2 separate regions of the Homo sapiens genome follow, and region 2 is linked to region 1. Evidence: promoter capture Hi-C in 16 types of primary human blood cells and fetal thymus (Javierre and others, 2016). All regions are on one chromosome and are shown on one strand. Each heading gives the region's core, a stretch centred on a gene start or on the middle of the fragment in contact. The rest is flanking DNA. Distances are from core to core; before and after follow the strand shown.

Evidence for each region. Contacts are between HindIII fragments. The CHiCAGO score rates a contact against its expected background, and 5 or more counts as called.
Region 2: a fragment that was not itself captured here is called in contact with the fragment with the promoter of SRPX2 in region 1 in 1 of 17 cell types (M2 macrophages); the score reaches 5.8 in M2 macrophages.

Annotation. Positions count from the first base shown.
Region 1 is chrX:100,642,401-100,648,605 of GRCh38, reverse strand. SRPX2 (sushi repeat containing protein X-linked 2) reads right to left here and starts at 4,407. Exons shown (of 11, transcript NM_014467.3): 1 at 4,091-4,407; 2 at 2,202-2,413. The coding sequence starts at 2,283. RefSeq lists an enhancer at 1,120-1,414. The HindIII fragment of the contact is 8,191 bases long and covers 1,208-6,205 here.
Region 2 is chrX:100,769,883-100,776,360 of GRCh38, reverse strand. No RefSeq gene overlaps it. Among named protein-coding and RNA genes, the nearest start is that of SYTL4, 41 kb to the right of the region's middle. The HindIII fragment of the contact is 8,719 bases long and covers 1-6,478 here.

The DNA of each region.
Region 1 (6,205 bases), core at 3,158-5,657:
ACCTTTCCATTTTCCCATTTCCCCTCTTTGCCTATCTTTGAGTTTTTTTTCTTTTTTGCAAATGGTGGAATACTAAGATGGGTATAAGAATGAAATTAAAGGGGAACATTTCCTACATTATTCTGTCTGCTTGTCCCTCTTCAGCCCTGGGGGAAGGACTTGGGGAGCATTCCTCAGTTCCTTTAGATCAATCAGTGCTTGGTTACTGTGTGGTCTGTTACTGGGTTCCTCCAACCTCCATAGTACAGTCAGGCCCTCTAAGCACTGCCCTTCACAAAAGTATAGTTAGACATGTAATTGATAGTTAAAAGACTATCTTAAGATTCATATTAATCCTTGGCTTATGATGACAAATACAGTCTGACTTTCTGGGCTGCACAGATATGCCAGAACACACTTTTAACCCATTCTTTGCTTTATTTATATTCTTAACTTTTCCCAGCCACTGCTGATTATTCCTGGACCCTTTTTCTGATTAGCCCTGGATCCACATTTGGCTGCTATTCTGTGCCATGCCCATTTGAAGACAAGGCTGTACAAGTAAACAAAACTGTCCTGGATGCATAAAGAGTCCTCAATAAATATTTGTTGAAGGAATGAATGAACAAAGGCATGAAGGCAAGCCCAACAGCTGAGCTAGCAGTGTAGGGGAAATGTCTCTCATCATGTGGCCTCCTAAGGATAGAAGAGGGAAGAATGAGTGGAATTGCAGGGCTGGCAGAGGCCTCACCAATCTGAGCTTCTCAGGAGTGGTGACTTGTGATTCACGTGGAAGTGGGGTGTTCCACCTTTGCAAATAGCCCTTTGAGAACCTCAACTGAATCTAACTTTTAAAAAACTGCTCTGTGCTCACGCCTCCAACAGCTCAGGCTTCTGTTTTGGGAAAGGTAAAGACCTTTGCATGCCATGAGGTTTCATACAGGTGTTCAGAATTGGGCTTCGAGCCATCTAATCTCCACTCCTTTAGTCCTGTGGTCTTTGGCTGGATTTTGGTCTCTGTAAATGAACTGAAGCAAGGGGAGGTTGGGGAGGACAGTTGCATATTTATCTCCTGGAGACTTGAGGCACCTTTAACCCCAAACAGGATATGCTCTGCCAAGGGCTTGACTTGAATTTTTTCATCTCAATGTCAGTCCTTGTGCTTCACCCCCTACAAAGCCAGGTTAAGCCAAAAAGGGGAAGAAGTTTGCATATTTGTTTGAAAGCTTGATGCAGCTGTTCCAGACAAACAGAGCTACTGCCAAAGGCCTCCACCAGGAGCTAAGGGCATGTGGAAAATTTTAGCTGCAGGGACTGTGGCTGTGATGGGAGCAGTTTGTTATTTACTCATCTCTGGATATTTTCCTAACCCCATTGGTTGGGTCTGTCTCCTTCCCCCACTACTCCCCACGGGCCCCTGTGAGGGCAGACACTGCAGGCCACAGAATATTCTTAGCACTTGGAATGCCAGCTGGGCCCCATATAAAACCTCTGTATGCCACTTCATTATCCTGCCCTCATCCCTTCCCCCTCCCCTTTCCCTCTTCTCACTGAGTTTGTTCTCTGGCTCTCTGGGTGAAGAGTGAAATATTCAGGAATCCAGAAATCTCCATCCCTTCTGAAGTAAAGAACAAATGAGAAGAAACTGGGAAATTCCTGATTAAAAGGATGTGATCTGTATTGCCACTAACAGCTTTGGCATAAAAGGGCTATAAAAAATCTCATTTTATAAATAAGATCAGAGAGGGTGGGAAGAAGTCTGATGGATTCTCATTTCACTTGAATAGATTGCCTGCCCCCCTTATTTTTTCCAAATGAGGTATGTGGTCTAAGTCCATTTTTGTGGTCTTGACAAGAGTATTTGACTCATAAAAGAATTAATATTAATAAAGATTTGACTCATAAAGGATTTCATGTTAGAAAATGGTTTTCAGGAAGCTAAGTGCACAAGCAGGTGAGACAATGGCCTCAAAGGTGATGTCCAACCTTCTCATGTTTGTACTAGTGTGGCCTATTTCACCTATTTCAAATAGCTCTTGTTAGGCTGCCTTAAAAGCCTCCCTTGGTAGTCTGTTGCCATGTTTAACCATCTTTATTGTCCTTTAATACTTCTCTGTATAGAAAATAAGTGTCTCTTTTTGTAGTCTAACTCTTCCTTCTCCAAGTCTTGGTCTAGGACCTATCCTTCCTGGAAATAATAGGCAACAGCTCCTAGAACTTACCTGCATACCATGTTGGTGTCACTGCCGGAGTTAGGAAGAACAGCAGAAAGAGAGCTCCTCTTTGAGTTAGCTGACTGGCCATCCTTGAAAGGGAGGATTATGGAGACAAGAAAAGATGTATATGGCCTGAAGTACCAGGGCAAAGGAAAGTGACTTTCAGAAGTCAGCCATCAATTAACTTCTAAAAGTGAGGGGAAGCAGAAATATGGGATCTGTGAGGAAGAAGAGAGATTTTATAATTAATGAATGCCTTTTATATTATCTCCCTCATAAGGATCTTTCATGTTATAGAATAACAAGACTCTGTTTGTTATTTATGGTCCCTTTTCCTCCCAGGAGGAGGAGGATGTAAAACAACCAATCTTCATCTGACTCTGGTGGGATCAGATGCAAATGCTTCATGGTCCAAGTTATAGAGAGGGACATTGAAGTACTGAGACCAGGAAAAGGCCAACATGAAGTTACACAGAACCAGGAGGGAACCTGGTGACCTAAAGGCTGCCATTAGGTTTCATTCATTCAACTAACATTTCCTAGCCACTAATCTGGGAAAGCGTTAGCATATGTGGTCTAAGAATTTGAACACTGAAGTTACACAGGTCTGGATGTGAATCCAATTCTGTCACCTATTAGCTATAGGGTCTTGGACAAATTTTTTAACTTCTCTAAGCCTCGGTTTCCTCATCTATAAAATGGGAATAATAATACTGTCTACCTCATGAATTGATTATTGTCTGTCATATAGGGAAGTAATTTATATATTAGACAATATTATTACCAACTTTGTATTGGACAGGACTGAATGTTTCCCTTCTCTAGTGTCCCAGGCAGTAACTGGACTCTGGCTCTGTTCTTAGCTTTGGGTTTTAAGGCTTGGTGGTTTGGTAGTGGCTTCTGGCTTTCAAGTCCAGCCTAACCCTCTAGTTTTACCTTGCTGAGCCAGCAGGAAGTCAGCGAGGTAGAGGAGGACCTGCTGAGGTACATGAGGAGAGGGTGAACAAGCTCCAATTGCCCTCTCACTTCCTCCCCTGTCCTCACCCTAATGGGACGAGAGTTTTGTGGTTCCCAGCGGGCAAATACTTTGTAAATGACAGTATTAAAACTTGCTGCCCATTGGTATAAATTGGCCACTGGGCATTTCAGCAAGCACCCATTCACTCACGGGCTTTCAATGAAATGCCATGCTCAGGGGAGGAGTCAGTCCTAGAAATAGAGAAACAAAAATGTGGTAGATTCTGGCCAGAGTCCCTAAGGGACATGCAAAGCCCAAGAAAGGGAAAAGTGTATTTTTTAGTTCATTGCTACTTGGCTTCAGATTTTGTCTAGAAAGTGACAGGGAAGCAGGACGGAGAAAAAGTGAGAGTAAACGAAGGAGGCAAGGGAAGTAGAAAGATGTGGGAAGGAAGGAAAGAAAATCTGACAGAGCTGAAGGAAAGAGATAGATAAACGCAGAAAGAGGCAACAAAAGGAGCAGAAAGAGGAGATTAAAGAGAGGTCCAGGAAGTGAACATTAGATAACTAATCACTGACCCCTCTCCCACATCTAGCCTCCATCCAGTTCCTTCGTTCTGGAGCAGAGGCATTCCTTTTTCAGATCCCTGAACCTGTGACCTCGTACCTGCCCAGCTTCTCCCCAATCTCAGGCTTAATACTTGACTCACCAGAGTCAACCATCCCATCCCTCTGCTGTGGGCTGAGAAGTTGCTGGGAACATGTGTTTGCAGTCAGGTCACGGCACAAATGAAAAGCAGCATATGATCCAGCTTCATAAAAGAACTTCCCCCCGACCTCCACCCCCAGCCATGTTGCCCAAGTTCTGGGTCTCCTTATCCCCTTCACAATTGTGAATTGGGGTAGTGGAGTGTGGAGGGGTTAGTTGCAGATCTTACCTGTTTTATGGTATTTTGTGCCCTTTTTCTCTCTCCTCCTCTTTCTCCTTCCTCTCTGCTCCTCTCATCAATTGGAAAAAACCTTCTACTTTAACATTCCTAGAACGAGTGGCTCCTGGTCTGTCCCGGCCTCCGGGATTCTGTTAACACTGCCCAGATGTTACGACGTCCACATCTGCCAAAAGTTTCCTTAAAGCTATATTATCCCTGAAGCTATAGTTATTCCTCTCTCAGAGAAGGGTTTTAGAAAGATGGGGGAGAAGGAACACAGGGATTAGAGGAACTCAGTCCGTCTGCTGCAGAAGAGGGGGAAGTGTGAATGGCACTGGCTCCAAGCCTGTGAATATAGTGATGACTAACACAGAGGCTGGCTTAAGCGGCCTCCAGAGATGTGTTGCACTGAAGAACACTTCTTTTTATGACTCAGCATGACATAAGAATTGAATGAAAAGGAATTTCATAAACACTCACAAACACCAAAGAGAGGGGAAGACTGTAGCTGACTTTGACATTCCCTAAGATTTCTCCTGTAATTCCTTAGACTCCCAACTCTGAACTGTCTTGCAATCTATATGGTATCACGTCAGATACGCTTTGAAACCCTCATGCCAGTGACCTAACTTCTCTGGACTTCAGTTTCTGTTAAGATTATATTGTTTACAAAAAAAACACAAAAAACAAAAAACAAAAAACATGTACTTCTTGCCCGAAGGATCAAGACTGATTTCCCACACTAAGAATGGAGGGAAAGCATGCCTGGAGAGGCTTTACTGGGAGGCTGTTTGAGCAAATCTAGCTGCTTCCCAGTGGTCTCTGATGGAGGGCTACATTTCACTCAGCAAGATTTTTTCATTTTAGTATCTGATAATGAGACTATTCTGCCATAGCACAGAGCAGCTACTTACAATCTCCCTCCCCTCACGGTTGACATTTCCATCTCTTGGAAAATCAGTGGTTATAGAAGGAAGAATTTTAAGCTGTTGTAGAAAGGGTGTTTCTCCTGTGTATGCAAGCAAATTGGTAACCCCTTCTCAGTCATAAGGGGAAGAATTGTACTTATGAGAATACAAAGTTCAAAAGCAAGCCTGAGCCTGCTTCATTTCCAATTCACCTGTGACAAATATGTATTGAGTGTCTACCATTTGCTTAACAGTGTAATAGCTACGTAAAGAAGATGTGGCTGGGCGCGGCGACTCACGCCTATAATCCCAGTACTTTGGGAGGCCGAGGTGGGCAGATCACGAGGTCAGGAGTTCGAGATCGGCCTGGCCAACATGGTGAAACCCCGTTTCTACTAAATACAAAAAAAAATTAGCCGGGCGTGGTGGTGCACGCCTGTAATCCTAGCTACCCAGGAGGTTGAGGCAGGAGAATTGCTTGAACCCAGGAGGCAGAGGTTGCAGTGAGCTGAGATCACGCCACTGCACTCCAGCCTGGGCGAGGGAGTGAGACTCCGTCTCAGAAGAAAAAAAAGAAGAAGAAGAAGACGTGATCGTCATGGCCTTATTCATTCCATAAATTTATCAAGTATCTACCATGTCAAGAGTGGTGGATGTAGTGGTGAACAAGACAGACAAAATCCCAGGCATTGTAATCCATAATTAATTCAACAAATACTTGTTGAGCATCCATTATGTGCCACATATGGTTCTAGGTATTTGAGAAACATCAGTGAACAAAATGGACAAAAATCCCTGCCCTCATGGAACAGAGGAGACAGACATCAAACAAGCATGTTCTTAATTACAATTGTGTGTGTTTAGGGAATCTTTACTGGTCATCTACTATAAGCTAAGCACTGCAGATACAGTGGTGAGCAAGTAATGTGTGATTCTTGATCTTATGGAGCTTACTCTCCAGCTCCCAGAGTTTATGTTTAGTAGGGGAGAGAAGAGGGACACAATCAATTAGAAAACAATACAACTCCCTACCGTAATAGACTGCCAAAAGCTGTGTTACAGACTTTAAGGACGCTAGGAGGAAGTCAGAGGAGGGGGTCACCTGAGAAGAGGTGGGCCTTGGTCTAGCCTCAGGCAAAGGAAATGCCATCAACAAGAGTTCACCTTTAGGTCAGAGGAGGGAGAGGCTAACTGCTAAGAGGTTTCAGGGAAAGAT
Region 2 (6,478 bases), core at 1,952-4,451, 130 kb before region 1:
AATGGTAGAAAACTTCCCAAGTCCAGGAAGAAATTGGAAAGCCAGATCCAGGAAGTCCATAGCACACCAAATAAGATGAACCTAAGGAGATCCACACCAGGACACATCATAGTCAAATTGTTAAAAGTTAAAAGACTGAGAGAGTATTGAAAGCAGCAAGGGAAAAGCAAATTATCATAGGGGAACCTCCATAAGAATATAAATAGACTTCTCAGCAGAAACCTTGCAAGCTATAAGAGAGTGGGATGATATAGACAAAACCCTGAAAGAAAAAGACCACCAATCAAGAAAACTATACGCAGCAACACTGTCTTTCAAAAAATGAAGGGGTGATTAAGACTTTCTCAGAAAAACAAAAGTTGGGAGACTTTATTACCATTAGACCTGCATTACAAAAACTAAATGAACTTCTTCACCTGAAGGAAGAGGATGCTAATTAGTAACTAAATCATATGAAAGTATAAAACTCACTGGTAAAAGTAAGTACATTGACAAATACAAAACCCTCTAATACTGTAACAGCAGTAGGTAAATCAATTATATTTCTAGTATAAAGTTCAAAAGGGAAAACCATTAAAAACAACTAAAGCTACAATAATTTGCTAAGGGATACATGTTATAAGATGATATAAAAGTGTAACATCAAAAACAAAACATGGGAGGAGGTGGAGTAAAAGTGGAGGTATTGTGTATGCAATCAAAATTAAGTTATTATTGGATAAATTAATCTGTTATGAGTATAAGATGTTTTTATTTTTTAAATTTTAATTTAATTTAATTTTTGAGACTGGGTCTTGCTTTATCACCCAGGCTGGAGTGCAGCGGCATGATCATGGCTCACTGCTGGCTTGAACTCCTGGGCTCAAGTGATCCTCCCACTTCAGCCTTTCAAGTAGCTGGGACCACAGGTGTGTGCCATCATGCCCAGCTAATTTTTATTTTATTTATTTATTTTTAACTTTAAAAATTTTATATTTTTCATTTCCATAGGTTTTTGGGGAACAGGTGCTATTTGGTTACATGAGTAAGTTCTTTAGTGGTGATTTGTGAGATTTTGGTGTACCCATTTTACCTGAGCAGTATACACTGAACCCAATTGTAGCCTTTTATCCCTCACCCCCTTCTCACCCTTTTCCCCTGAGTCCCCAAAGTCCATTGTATCATTCTTCTGCCTTTGCATCCTCATAGCTTAGCTCCCACTTATAAGTAAGAACATATGATGTTTGGTTTTCCATTGTTGAGTTGCTTCACTTAGAATAATAGTCTGCAATCCCATCCAGGTTGCTGTGAATGCTATTAGTTCATTCCTTTTTATGGCTGAGTAGTATTCCATCATATACATGTATATATATGTGTATATATATATTGTGTATACATATATATATATACACACACACCACAATTTCTTTATCCACTTGTTGATTGATGGGCATTTGATGGCCAGCTAATTAAAAAAAAATTTTTAAGAGATGGGGTCTTACTATGTTGCCCAGGCTGGAGTGCAGTGGCTATTCAGAGGCATGATCATGGTGTACTATAGCCTTGAACTCCTGGGGTCAAGTGATCCTCCTGTCTCAGCCTCCCAAGTAGCTAGAATTACAGGCATGCACCACTGTGCCTGGCTGTATAAGATGTTTTGTGTAAACCTCAGGGTAACCACAAAGCAAAAGCCTACAATACAAATACAAAAGAGAAAAAGAAAAGACCCAAGGTATACCACTACAGAAAGCCATCAAACAACTAAGAAAGAAAGCAAGGGAAAAGGAAGGGAGCAAAAGATCTATAAAACAACTAGAAATATCCAGAATCTATAGGGAACTTAAATCAACAAGCAAAAAGCAAATAACCTCATTGAAAAGTGGGCAAAGGACATGAACAGACACTTCTCAAAAGAAGACATACAAGTGACCCACAAACATGAAAAATGCTCATAATCTCTAATCATCAGAGAAATGCAAGTCAAAACCACAAGGAAATACCATCTCACACCAGTAAGAATGGCTTTTGTTAAAAAGTAGAAGACAAAAACAGATATTGGTGAGGCTGCAGCAAAAAGGGGACACCTGTATATGGCTGGTGGAAATGTAAAAATTAGTCCAGACACTGTGGAGAGCAGTTTGGAGATTTCTCAAAGAACTAAGAGTTGAACTACCATTCGACCCAGCAATCCCATTACTCGGTATACACCCAAACAAAAATAAATTGTTCTACCAAGATGACACGTGCATCCATATGTTCATCACAGTGCTATTCATAATAGCAAAAACATGGAATCAACCCAGGTACCCATCAACAGTGGACTGGATAAAGAAAATGTGGTATGCAGACACCATGGAATACTATGCAGCCATAAGGAAAAATGAAATCATGTCCTTTGCAGCAACGTGGATGCAGCTGGAGGCCATTATCCTAAGGGAACTAATGCAGAAACAGAAAACCGTACACTGCATGTTCTCACTTACAAGCGGGAGCTAAACATCAGTTACTCATGGTCATAAAGATGGCAACAAAACTAGTGACTACTAGCAGGTGGAGGAGGGGAAAGGGCTGAAAAACTACCTATTGGGTACTATGCTCACTACCTGGGTGATAGGTTCAGTCATACCCCAAACCTCAGCATCATGCAATATACATTTGTAACAAATATGTACATGTACCCCGACTCTAAAAAGTTGAAAAAAAAAACCTCTAGAAAACAATGAACAAAATGGCAAGAGTAAGTTCATACCTATCAATAATAATCTTGAATGTATACGAATTAAATTCTTCAATTAAAAGACATACAATGACTGGATGATAAAAAAACAAGACCTGTATATATGTGTCCAACAAGAGGCTCACCTCATATGTAAGGACACACATAGACTGAAAGTGAAGGGATGAAAAGAGGATACTTCCTGCAAATGTAAATTAAAAGAGAGCAGGAGTAGCTATATTTATATCAGATAAAACAGACTTTAAGTCAAAAACAGCAAAAAGAGACAAAGTCATCGTATGAAGATAAATAGGTCAATTCAGCAAGAGTATATAACAATTGTAAATATATATGCACCTAACACCTGAACACCCAAATATGTATAGCAAATATTGATGGATCTAAAGGTAGAGATAGACTACAATATAATAATACTAGCGGACTTTTAACAGACCACTTTCAGCAATGGACAGATTGTCCAGACAGAAACATCAGCAAAAAAATCAGAGCTAAACTACACTCTAGACCAGGTGGACCTAACTGACATTTACAGAGCATTTCATCAAACAATTTCAAAATACACATTCTTGTCATCAGCACATAGAATATTCTTCAGGTTGGACCATATGGGCTAGGTCATAAAACAAGTCTCAAAAAATTTAAAACATTGAAATCATATCAATTATCCTTTCTGACCATAGTAGAATAAAACTAGGAATCAATAACAAGAGGAACTTTGGAAACTGTACAAATACATGGAAATTAAACATGCCTTTGGACAACCAATGGCTAAAGGGAGAAATTAAGAAGAAAATTTTTAAAATTTCTTGAAAGAAATGAAAATGGAAACCCACCATACCAAACCTATGGGATACAGAAAAAGCAGTACTAAGAAGGAAGTTTGTAGTAATAAATGCCTATGTCAAAGAAGTAGAAGATTTCAAATAAACAACCTAATGATGCACTTCAGGGAACTAGAAAAACAAGAACAAGCCAAACCCAAAATTAGTAGAAGGAAATGAATAAGAAATGTCAGAGCAGAAATAAACAAAATAGAGACTAGAAAAACAATACAAAAGATCAAGAAAACAAAAGGTTGGTTTTATGAAAAGATAAAATTAAAAAAAAAACTACTAGTTAAACTAAGAAAGAAAAAGAGAAGACCCAAAGAAATAAAATCAGAAATAAAAAAGAAGACATTACAAGTGATAAAACAGAAATATGAATTATCATTAGAGAATATTATGAACAACAATACACTAACAAATTGGAAAACCTAGAGAAAATGGATTAATTCCTGGTCACATATAACCCACCAAGATTGAAAAAAATAGAAAACATGAACAGGCTGATAACAAGTAATTAGACTGAATCAGTAATACAAAGTCTCCCAATAAAGAAAAGTCTAGGACTGGATGGCTTCACTGCTGAGTTATACCAAAGTTTTAAAGAAGAACAAACATAATTTATCCTCAAACTATTCCAAACAATGGAAGAGGAAGGAATTCTTTCTACTCATTCTACAGAGCCAGCATTACTCTGATACCAAAACTAGACAAGGACACAACAACAAAAAAAGAAAACTACAGGCAAATAGCCCTGATGAACATAGATGAGAAATGCTCAACAAAATGTTAGTAAACCACATTCCACAGCACATCAAAAAGATTATACAACATGATCAAGCAGAATTTATCCCAGGAATGGAAGGCTGGTTGAACATATGCAAATCAATAAATGTGATATATCATATCAACAGAATGAAGGACAAAAACCATGTAATCATCTCAACACATGCAGAAAAACATTTAATAAAATTCAACATCTCTTCATGGTAAAAACTATCAACAAATTAGGTATAGAGAAAAACATACCTCAAAACAATAAAGACCATATATGATGAACCCACAGCTAACATCAAACTGAATAAGGAAAAGTTGAAAGCATTTTTTTTTAAGATCTGGACAAAGACAAGGAAGCCTAGTTTCACCACTTTTATTCAACATAGTGCTGGAAGTCTTAGCCAGAGCAATTAGGCAGGAGAAAGAAATAAAGGGCATCCAAATTGGAAAGGAGGAAGTCAAATTGTCCCTGTTTGCAGATAACATGATCTTATATTTTGAAAACCCCAAAGACTCGTCCAAAACACTCTTAGAACCGATAAATGAATTCAGTAGGATTCAAAATATCTCAAATAATATATAAAATATCTCAAAATAATAAGAGCTATTTATGACAAACCCATAGCCAATAACATACTGAATGGGCAACAGCTGGAAGCATTCCCTTTAAAAACCGGCAGAAGACAAGGATGCCCTCTCTCACCACTCCTATTCAACGTAGTATTTGACGTTCTGGCCAGGGCAATCAGGCAAGAGAGAGAAATAAAGGATATTCAAATAGGAAGAGAGGAAGTCAAATTGTCTCTATTTGCAGATGACATGGTTGTGTACTTAGAAAACCCCATAATCTCAGCCCCAAAACTCCTTAAGCTAATAAGCAACTTCAGCAAATTCTCAAGATACAAAATTGATGTGCAAAGATCACAAGCATTCCTAAACACCAATAATAGACAAGCAGAGAGCCAAATCATGAGTGAATTCCCATTCACAATTGCTACAAAGAGAATAAAATAGCTAGGAATACAACTTACAGGGGACATGAAGGACCTCTTCAAGGAGAACTACAAACCACTGCTCAAGGAAATAAGGGAGGACACAAACAAATGGAAAAACATTCCATGGTCATGGGTAGGAAGAATAAATATCGTAAAAATGGCCACACTGCCCAAAGTAATTTATACATTCAATGATATTCTCATCAAGCTACCATTGACTTTCTTCGCAGAATTAGAAAAAATTACTTTAAATTTCATATGGAACCAAAAAAGAGCCCGTATAGCAAAGACAAGCAAAAAGAACAAAGCTGGAGGCATCACACTGCCTGACTTCAAACTATAATACAAGGGTACAGTAACCAAAACAGCATGGTAGTGGTACCAAAATAGATATATAGACCAATGGAACAGAACAGAGGCCCCAGAAGTAACACCACACATCTACAACCATCTGATTTTGACAAACCTGACAAAAACAAGCAATGGGGAAATGATTCCCTATTTAATAAATGGTGCTGGGAAAACTGGCTAGCCATATGCTGAAAACAAACTGGACCCCTTCCTTACACCTTATACAAAAATTAACTCAAGGTGGATGAAAGACTTAAATTTAAAACCCAAAACCATAAAAACCCTAGAAGAAAACCTAGGCAATACCATTCAGGACATAGGCATGGGCAAAAACTTCATGACTAAAACACCAAAAGCAATGGCAACAAAAGCCAAAATTGACAAATGGAATCTAACTAAAGAGCTTCTGCACAGAAAAGAAACTATCATCAGAGTGAACAGGCAGCCTACAGAATGGGAGAAAATGTTTGCAATCTTTCTATCTGACAAAGGTCTAATATCCAGAATCTACAAGGAACTTAAACAAATTTACAAGAAAAAAACAACCCCATCAAAAAGTGGGCAAAGGATATGAACAGACACTTCTCAAAAGAAGACATTTATGTGACCAACAAACATATAAAAAATGCTCATCATCAGTGGCTATTAGAGAGATGCAAATGAAAACCACAATGAGATACCATCTCATGCCAGTTAGAAAGGCGATTATTAAAAAGTCAGGAAACAACAGATGCTAGAGAGGATGTGGAGAAATAAGAACGCTTTTACACTGTTGGCAGGAGTGTAAATTAGTTCAACAATTGTGGAAGACTGTG